Linked DNA regions of Homo sapiens: region 2 is linked to region 1. The links are contacts of gene promoters, found by promoter capture Hi-C in blood cells and fetal thymus (Javierre and others, 2016). All regions are on one chromosome and are shown on one strand. Each heading gives the region's core, a stretch centred on a gene start or on the middle of the fragment in contact. The rest is flanking DNA. Distances are from core to core; before and after follow the strand shown. Region 1 holds the start of NCBP3 (nuclear cap binding subunit 3). Region 2 holds the start of HASPIN (histone H3 associated protein kinase).

Region 1 (4,721 bases), core at 903-3,402:
GGACTCCTCATGTACCTGCCGGCTGGTGTGCCAGGGTGCTGGGGCTCTTCTGGATGGCACTGAACTGCAACACTGAATCCTCACCGAATTGCGTCCTCAAGCAACAAGGCATCCTCCCCAGCAGGGTGAGGGGCCTGCCCAGCCTTCTCTACTGGCCTCCTGGTGTCCATAGCTGAGGAGGGATTACTTCCTCCTCTCCCATCCCCTAACCCCACAGGCCTAGTAATGGTGGGGGCTGTGACTCTTACCTATAGCTGGCCACCCCAACTACACATTTTGTTTGAAATTAAACACACACACACACACACACCCGTACATATTCTATGTATGCATTCAACCCATTTTTTTTTTTTTTTTTTGGAGACGGAGTCTCGCTCTGTCGCCCAGGCTGGAGTGCAGTGGTATGATCTCGGCTCACTGCAACCTCCACCTCCCGGGTTCAAGTGATTCTCCTGCCTCAGCCTCCCAAGTAGTGCATGCCACCATGCCCGGCTAATTTTTTTTTTTTAGTAGAGACACGGTTTCACCATGTTAGCCAGGATGATCTCGATCTCCTGACCTCATGATCTGCCCGCCTTGGCCTCCCAAAGTGTTGGGATTACAGGCATGAGCCACCGTGCCCGGCCTCAACCCAATTTTTAAAAGTACTTTGTGTCCCATTCATCAAATAAAACTAGTCCTCTAAAGAGCTCTGTCTTGTGTTTATCCTGTGGTTTAGCCCAAATTTAAGAAAAACTGTGATGTACTGCACCCCTTCTGTTGGACCCTGTATCTACATATAAATTATCACATTTAACCCTCACAACCTCCTTTGTAGGTAGGTAATGGTCCATTTTACTGATGAAGGAACTGAGACTCCAAAGTGCTAAGCAGCTTGCCTAAGGTCACACATGGTGGATGGGGCCCGGCCAGCCAGCTCGAAACCCAGGTGTGTCTGATGCTGACCATGCTCTTCCTTGGTTTATCATTATTTGCTCCTCCATGGTCAGAGCTGGTAGGGCCTCAGGGCCTCAGAGACTGTAGGGTCTCACCTATGCCCTCCTCAGATGGGAAAACAGACCCAAAAACCTGTCCAAGGTTACCCAGGGAGGAAGATGCAAAATCAGGACTCAGGCCGGGCGCGGTGGCTCATGCCTGTAATCCCAAGACTTTGGGAGGCCGAGGCGGGTGGATCGCTTGAGGTTAGGAATTCGAGACCAGCTTAGTCAACATGGTGAAACCCTGTCTCTACAAAAAAAAAAAAAAAAAAGAAAGAAAGAAAGAAAGAGGAGAGGGAGGAAGGAAGGAAAAGAGAAAGAAAGAAAAGAAGAAAGAAAGGAAGGAAGAAAGGAATAAAGAAAGAAAGAAAGAAAGAAAAAGAAAATCAGGACTCAGAACAGCAGCTGATCAGTGACACCCTCGGGACGCGTAGACAACCCCTCTCCCCCACCAGGCTCTCGTTAGAAATATCCGCCGGAAACTATGCTCACAGGTCTACAGTGGATGGCACCCTCAGGAGTCAGGAAATCGGCGTCCAAGTTCTGGCCTTTGGGCAGGTCTCTCCCTCTTGGAGTCTCAATTTTTGTGTATGTAACATGGGCCAATTTTGGGGAGACTTTTAAGAGACAAAGACTGGCAAGGCAAGTAACTTTATAAACCTACAGATTGTCCAGAGGTGATATATCAAGGCTCATTGTAAACTCTGGAAGACTTAGATCCAGCTTTTATCCCTTAAATGGCGTCACCTTGGGTCAATTTCTATGCCTCAGTTTCCTCATATATGAAATGGGGGTCAAAATAGGATCTACTTCATAGAGTTGTTCTAAGGGTTCGAGCGCTTGGAAGTGTCTGGCCCATAGTGATCACTCAGGAAAGTTGGCTTTTAGTACAGCTTTAGCCTCAAGGCGTAGCTACATTGTAACCCTTGACTACCCCGGTCTCCTCCAAGCTCCGTAGTTCCCGCAGGCCCCGCCCCCGTCCCCGCTCAGTCCCGCCTTCTCCTCCCCAGGTCCCGCCCGCGCAGCCGGCCCGGTTTTCTCCCGCCACCAGGGGGCGGCGGCGCTAAGGGCGGCCTTCTGGGCCGAAGCCGGCGACGCTCTAGGTAGCTGCGGCGGCTCCTCTGTGGCCAGTGGCAGCGGCGCTCTAGCCGGCGGCCGTGAGGGGCGGGCTCTCAGTGGTGCGGCCGGCAGGCAGCGATGGCGGCCGTACGGGGCCTGCGGGTGTCGGTGAAGGCGGAGGCCCCGGCGGGGCCGGCCCTGGGGCTCCCGTCCCCTGAGGCGGAGTCCGGTGTTGACCGTGGCGAGCCGGAGCCCATGGAGGTGGAGGAGGGCGAGCTGGAAATCGTGCCTGTGCGGCGCTCGCTCAAGGAACTGATCCCGGTACGGGCGGGGGTCGGGGGGTAAGGAAGAGGTCGCGGGGCTAGTGTCTAGCGCCGGAGGGGGCCGGAAGGGGCGGTGGCCGGAGCCCCAGCCGGGGAAGTCAAGGGAGCGGGAGAGGAGGGAGCCAGCGTCCTGGGAACGGGAACGCCGGGCTGGAGGAGGGACGCGGAGCGGGAGAAAGGACGCCGGGGCGCCGGAAATGGGTGTTGAGGGGGCTGGGGGGTGGTGGCGGAGAGCTGGGAGGGAGTTGAGGACCCCCCTCCGCTGCCCCCTCTGAGCCGCGCTGTGCAAGGAGGTGAGTGAGGAGGGGCTGGAAGGATGAGATAAAGGGGGAGCCCTGGGCGGGAACAGAACCAGGGGCAGCCCAGAAGGAGCTGTTGGGTGGCGCCAGCAACCAGGTCTCCTTGTGGGTCTTGCCCCGGAGGAATTTGTATCTGGGAAACATGGCACTCGCTCTTTGTCTTGAGAGGGCTGCACTTGTCAGCAGCAGAAACTCACTGTTTCTGTCGTGACTTCGGGGTCATCTTGCCCCCCCCGCAGCTCCAGTGACACCTACACCGTGGCCCCAGCATCTGACTCTTAATGAAAGCAAACTAGCAGACGACCAATAGACATCCTTGGTCCCTCCTTTACCGCGCTGGGGATGGTGAGAGGTGTTTTGCTTGTGACTTGGTGGCTGTATATCCAGTTCTCAGAGCTGGTTTCAGGCCTGGATGACTCCTCTTAATTTCTCACCTAACATGAATTACTTTTGACCACATGTCAACATATTTAGACTGAAGTTATGGAGAAAGGTTAAAGTATGATCGCTAGAGATGGCAAACGTTATAATTATGATTAACAACAGCTAATATAGTAGCATTTACCATTCACTATATTGTGTCACTTAAATATACTGGCCGTGCACGCCTTTAGTGCCAGCTATTCAGGAGTCTAAGTTCCAGACCAGCCTCAGCAATATAGCAAGACCCCTTTGAGGTCCCCCCTTTCCCCTCTCCCCATCTCAAAAACAAAACCAAAATAAATAAATATTACTGCAGTTGTGAAGCAGGTGTTATCATCCCTTTAGTCATTCAGTTCAACATGGTTTTTGTTTTGTTTTGTTTTGAGACGGAGTTCGCTCTTGTTGCCCAGGCTGGAACGCAATGGCGCGATCTCGGCTCACCGCAACTTCCGCCTCCCGGGTTCAAGCCATTCTCCTGCCTCAGCCTCCTGAGTAGCCAAGTACAATGGCCTGATCTTGGCTCACCGCAACCTCCGCCTCCTGGGTTCAAGCTACTCTTCTGCCTCAGCCTCCCAAGTAGTTGAGATTACAGGGATGTGCCACCGTGCCCGGCTAATTTTGTATTTTTAGTAGAGACGGGGTTTCTCCATGTTGGCCAGGCTGGTCTCGAACACCTGACCTCAGGTGATCCGCCCGCCTCTGCCTCCCAAAGTGCTGGGATTACAGGCCTGAGCCATTGCGTCCGGCCAACATGTATTTATTGCATCCCCCGCTATGTACCAAGGCACAGCCCTAGGTGCTTGATCAAGCTCAACCTCCCTCCTGGAGTTTATGTTCCATATAAACTCTAAATGACAAAAAGCCAATCTTGTGAAGATTGAAAAGGAGTTCCCCCAGCAGGGCCAGTAACAAGCACAGAGGCTCTGGGATGGGTCCAGGATTGTTGGAAACTTCTGTAGTACTAATGGAAGGGCAGTAAAAGAGGTCAGGAAGGCAGGTAGATACCACAGAGGAAACTGAGACCCAGAGAGGTCAAGAAAACTATACAGTGTCCTGTAATTAGTGACTGTCAGAGCTGAGGCTTCAGTCCTCGCTTGGTTTCCAAATCCCATCCCCTTTGCATTGCACTGTGCTGTATTTGCCTCAGGAGTTCTAGGTGAGGCTGGACCTTCTGCGTTGAGGTGGAGGGTTGTGCTCCACCTGGTGGCTGGGCATGAGGAATTCGTTCAGACTGGGTTGGGGAGCTAAGTGACTGTGCCTTATCTTTTGACATTTTCCACAAAAGCCTTTAGATTTTCTTTACATGGATACTTGGAGTTGATGGAATCACTTCAGTTTTTGGACAGGCTCTGATCTTCTTATTGGAGTGGTTGATTGATACCATGGAATCACTAGGATGGGGCTTCTTAATAAAAGGTTGTCAGGGGTGGGGAAGGGTTTTGAAAAGAGTGGCTATTCAAAAAGAACCAGACTTGCCAGGTGTGGTGGCTCATGCCTGTATCCCAGCACTTTGGGAGGCTGAGACAGACGGATCACCGAGGTCAGGAGTTTGAGACCAGTATGCCAACATGGTGAAACCTCGTCTCTACTAAAAATAAAAAAATTAGCTGGCGGTGGTGGCACATGCCTGTAATCCCAGC
Region 2 (4,721 bases), core at 439-2,938, 120 kb after region 1:
CGGTTGCACACTTCACCGGATAAGAGGCTCAACTCTTTGGAGATGATGATCTCTGGCAGGATTTCCTCAAAGGTTTTCTGATGGGATCCATTGACTAAATCTGGTCCTTCAATAGCAATGATTTTTATGGCTACGGGTGTGTGATCAGCAATTGTTTGAAACACTTCGCCAAACACCCCTTCCCCAATCTTCTCACAGCGTTGCAGTTTTTCTGTGGGAAGGCAATGGCTAAAGGGGACAGGACCCTTCTGACTGCATTCCCCATAAACCTTTTCAGCATCAGATGCCTTTTTGTTTGAAATACTTAGAGTGTTTAAGGGGCTTAGCAAATACATAGAGGAGGAGTGCCAAGAGGACGGAGCACCACTTGTTCTGTTCATGACAGGCCGGTTTGAACATTCTGATAGGAGGGATCCAGAGAGAGAAGTGGCAGTGGTATAGATGCTGCAGACCTCTGACACATCAGTCACAATTTTCTTCTTGTGGAAACTGAAGGAAGCCCTGGTTTTGGTCCAAAAGCAGACATTCTGTAAAGGAGTCAGGTCCTGGGTGGGGAACGAATCTTTTCCCAGCTTTTGGCCCTTTTTAAAGCGGTGGGAATGGAGGAGAGAGGTTTCCGTTGCCTCCTGATGTTTGCTCTTCCGGCTTGATCTAGTTCTCTCCAGCCTGTCTATTCCCCTTGGCACAATGCGGCCCTTGGGAACACTGGCCTCCTGATGCTCTCTCCGGACGGCCTCTTGAAGCCCTCTCTCTTGACAAGAGTCCTGGCCTGTGGCCCTCCTCTTGCCTGTGCTTGACAGACCTGGACCCTCTGGTCCATTTCCCACCACCAGTTTCCTTTTACAGCAGGACTCTCTCATATTCTTCCCATCTGCCCGAAACTCAGAATCCTCAGGGGTTCCTGAGTTCATAAGGCCAAAGAGAACTGACCTGAGGCTGGCGCGGGTTTGGTGGACCATCCTGGTGTCCTTGGCTCCTCCTGTCGCTTCCTCCTGGGAGCAGGGGAGAGATGCTCGGTCCAGGGAGACTTCTGGGAGGTGGAGGCCGCTCGGGACGGCTGAGGCTGCAACCAGACAGGCGGAGGTGCCGATCGAGATGACACTGTCCCTTGGCGTTGGGGACCCGGGGCAGGGCGAGGCCAGAGAGCTGAACAGGGAGGCACTGATGCCCAGCTCGTCGCCGTCCCTGGGCTGGCCGCACACGCTGAGGTCCGGGCTGAGGCGGCCGGAGTCGCGGCTGGGGAAGGGCGGAAGTCGGAGCGGGCCGCAGGGTGTGCTGCACTTCTGCGGGGGCCGAGCTCGCAGCCCCAGGCGTCTTGGGGTCACGGTTAGGCTTGGGCGAGCTCGCAGCTTCCAGCGCTTTGGGGTCACGGTCAGGCTGGGCCGGTCCTTGGGCACTCGGCCGCCGGGACGCCTCCGCCGCCGCCTCACCGGGCTGCCGGGGAAGTCGGGGTCGTCGGGATCGTCAGGATCGTCGGACTGCGAGGGGTCGCCGATGCTGGCGTCGCTGCTGCCGCTGCTGTTGAAGAAACGCCTCCGGTCCTGCGGCGGGAACCACTGCGCGGCTTCCCGGCCCGGCCGCCGCTGTCTCCTGCCGTCCGCAGCCCCATATGTGCGGAAAAGCCGGCTCCCAGGTCCCGGGAGCGAAGCCGCCATGGCCGGCACCCGCCAAGAGGTTCAAACGCAAACATCGCGAGACTTCCGTGCGACGCGGACGCGCCCGCCTGCCGCGGGGTCCTAGCTCCCGGCCCTGCGCATGCGCACCTCGCCAGGGCCGGGGCCGGGACGGGACGGAAAACTGGCGGCTTGGTTTGTTCAGCGCGTCGCGGTCATGGCTCTCGTTTCAGGCCTCCACGGTGTGCACCTGGAGTCAGGAGCGCGCTTGTGCGTACAGTTCGGTTCAGGTAAGCGCGGCCGTCCCGAGAGGCCAGGGGAGGGCGGAGGGCCTGAAGCGGGTAACGAGAGGCCAGGAGACTGTTTTTCCTGGGTTACCCCTGCCGGCCAGTGCCGGGGGCTGCCAGGCCCTCCCTAGCTTCGTCCCTGGGTCTCAATTGCTCCCGCTGGAGCTTCGCTTGGGCCGAGGTGAGCGCTGAAATTGCTCACACCCTCTATTCTGGGACCTTACGATGCTCTGTGTCCGAAGTGTTAAAAAGATTTCAGACTTTCCGCACGGAAAGGAATTGTGTTCACTAGACCTCGCTTTTCCAGCATGTGGAAGAATGGCATTCAGTGAGCTGTGTCATCGCTTCAGATAAAGAAAATGTCACCGTGGCTGCAGAGATCTCCTGGGATCACTCTGAGGAGGTGTTTGAGACTGAAATGCTCCAGATTTGATTATCCAGTTGCTCACGGGCATCGCCCCTAGAAGAGATAATAGCATCTTTGCATAACATGTCCATGTCCAAAATAGATCTTTTGGTGCAAAAAACCAACCCTCTGTCCCAACCCGTTCCTTAGCTACCCTCAGGAGGGAGATATACTCCAGTTACAGTACAAGGAACTCGAGGGATTACCTGTGACTCCTCTTTCCTACATCCCCACGTCTATTCCAGCAGCAAGCCCTGCCATTTCAGGGCCAAAATATATCCTAAACCCATTCACTTCTCTCCATTTCCACTGCCGTTGTAATTCAAGCTACCCTTTCTTGCCAGGGCTGTTGCAATAACCTTCGGCCTGCCTTTCTTGCCTCTGCTTTTCCCACATTCTTTACAAATAATTCCCACGTAACAGCTATCCGTCTTCTAAGAGCAGACATTAGATTGTGCCATTCCCCTGCTTATTAAAAATAACAAACAAACAAAACTGATGCTTGAGCACACTTAGACTAAAATCCATACTTTTTTCATGGCCAGAGCAAGGCAGTACTTGATCTGGTCTCTGCTTAATTCTTCAACTTCATCTCCTAGTACTCGCCTTTCTCTCCCACTGCCCCTTTTATAATCGGGTTATTCTGTCCTATTCTTCTAGCTCGCCAGTACAGCATTATTCTGGCCACAAGACTTTGTACTTGCTGTTCCTTTGCTTGACACTGCTCTTCCTCTAGGTCCTGACGTAGGTGGTTTCTTCTTAAATTTAGCTCAGGTGTTCTTTTCTTTTTTTTTTTTTTTTTTTTAGATGGAGTCTTGCTCTGTCACCCGGGCTGGAGTGCAGTGGCACGATCTCTACTCACTGCAACCTCCGCCTCCCGGGTTCAAGTGATTCTCCTGCCTCAGCCTCCCGAGTAGCTGGGATTACAGGCGCCGGCGACCACGCCCAGCTAATTTTTGTATTTTTAGTAGAGAGGGGGTTTCACCATGTTGGCCAGGCTGGTCTCGAACTCCTGACCTCAGGTGATCGCCCGCCTCAGCCTCCCAAAGTGCTGGGATTACAGGCGTGAGCCACCGCACCCGACCTAGGTGTTCTTTTCTTTTCTTTTCTTTCTTTCAAGACGGAGTTTCGCTCTTGTTGTGCAATGGCACGATCTCGGCTCACTGCAACCTCCGCCTCCCGGGTTCAAGCGATTCTCCTGCCTCAGCCTCCCAAGTAGCTGGGATTACAGGTATGCGCCACCATACCCGGCTAATTTTGTATTTTTAGTAGAGATGGGGTTTCTCCATGTTGGTGAGGCTGGTCTTGAACTCCTGACCTCAGGTGATCCGCCCTCCTTGGCCTCCCAAAGTGCTGGGATTACAGGCGTGAGCCACCACGCCCGGCTAATTTTGTATTTTTAGTAGAGATGGGGTTTCATCGTGTTGGTCAGGCTGGTCTTGAACTCCTGACCTCAGATGATCTACCCACCTCAGCCTCCCGAAGTGCTGGGATTACAGGCATGAGCCACCACACCCGGCCACACGTGTTATTTTCTTAGAGAGGCCTTCCCTGATCACTTATTCTAAAGTGGGAACTAGTGATCAAGTGATCAAGTTTAATGTTTTACAGTGATCCAGGTGACATTTGTGAGGTCTCAACTGAAGAAGTAGCAATGGGGGTGGAAAAGAAAGGGACAGATACAAGAAATAATTTAAAAAAAAAGAATTGTGAGTGTGGTGGCTCACATCTGTCATCCCAACACTTTGGGAGGCTGAGGCGGGAGGATTGCTTGAGGCCAGGAGTTCAAGATCAGCCTGGGCAGCATAGTGAAACCCCATTTCTTAAAAATAAATAAATACATAAATTAGCCACGCATGGTGGCTCATGCCTGTAGTCCCAGCTACTTGGGAGGCTGAGGCAGGAGTATCGTTTGAGCCCAGGAATTTGAAGCTTCAGTGAGCTATGATTGAGCCACTCCATTCCGGCCCGAGTAACAGAGTGAGACCTTGTCTCAAAAAAAAAAAAAAAAAAAAAAAAAAAAAGGAAAAATCTCTTACGTTAAATAAAATGAATAAGCTGGGTGTGGTGGCTCATGCCTGTAATCTCAGCACTGTGGGAGGCTAAGGTGGGTGGATTGCTTGAGCCCAGGAGTTTGAGACCAGCCTGGGCAACATGGTAAAACCCCATCTCTACAAAAAATACAAAAATTAGCCCAGTGTGGTGGGGTGCACCTGTGGTCTCAGCTACTCAGGAGACTGAGGTGGGAGGATCACTTGAGCCTGGAAGGTTGAGGCTATAGTGACCCATGATCATGCCATTGCACTCCAGCATGGGTGACAGAGCGAGATCCTGTCTCAAAAATAAGTCAGTCAGTCAAGAACTGACTTTGGATGGCACAAGGGAAAAGAAGTTGAAGAAAAGGCCAGGCGCGGC

The links. The method cuts DNA at HindIII sites, captures the fragments that hold promoters and counts their contacts. A CHiCAGO score of 5 or more calls a contact.
Region 2: the fragment with the promoter of HASPIN here is called in contact with the fragment with the promoter of NCBP3 in region 1 in 1 of 17 cell types (M2 macrophages); the score reaches 6.6 in M2 macrophages.

Annotation. Positions count from the first base shown.
Region 1 is chr17:3,843,677-3,848,397 of GRCh38, reverse strand. NCBP3 (nuclear cap binding subunit 3) reads left to right here and starts at 2,152. Exons shown (of 13, transcript NM_001114118.3): 1 at 2,152-2,357. The coding sequence starts at 2,175. RefSeq lists silencers at 1,864-1,983, 2,164-2,453. The HindIII fragment of the contact is 12,990 bases long and covers 1-4,721 here.
Region 2 is chr17:3,720,870-3,725,590 of GRCh38, reverse strand. HASPIN (histone H3 associated protein kinase) reads right to left here and starts at 1,688. Exons shown (of 1, transcript NM_031965.2): 1 at 1-1,688. The coding sequence starts at 1,655. It overlaps ITGAE (integrin subunit alpha E), which reads left to right. Exons shown (of 31, transcript NM_002208.5): 27 at 1,847-1,903; 28 at 2,208-2,303. It also overlaps a transcript of P2RX5 not described here. RefSeq lists an enhancer at 1,003-1,758 and a silencer at 1,628-1,787. The HindIII fragment of the contact is 18,899 bases long and covers 1-4,240 here.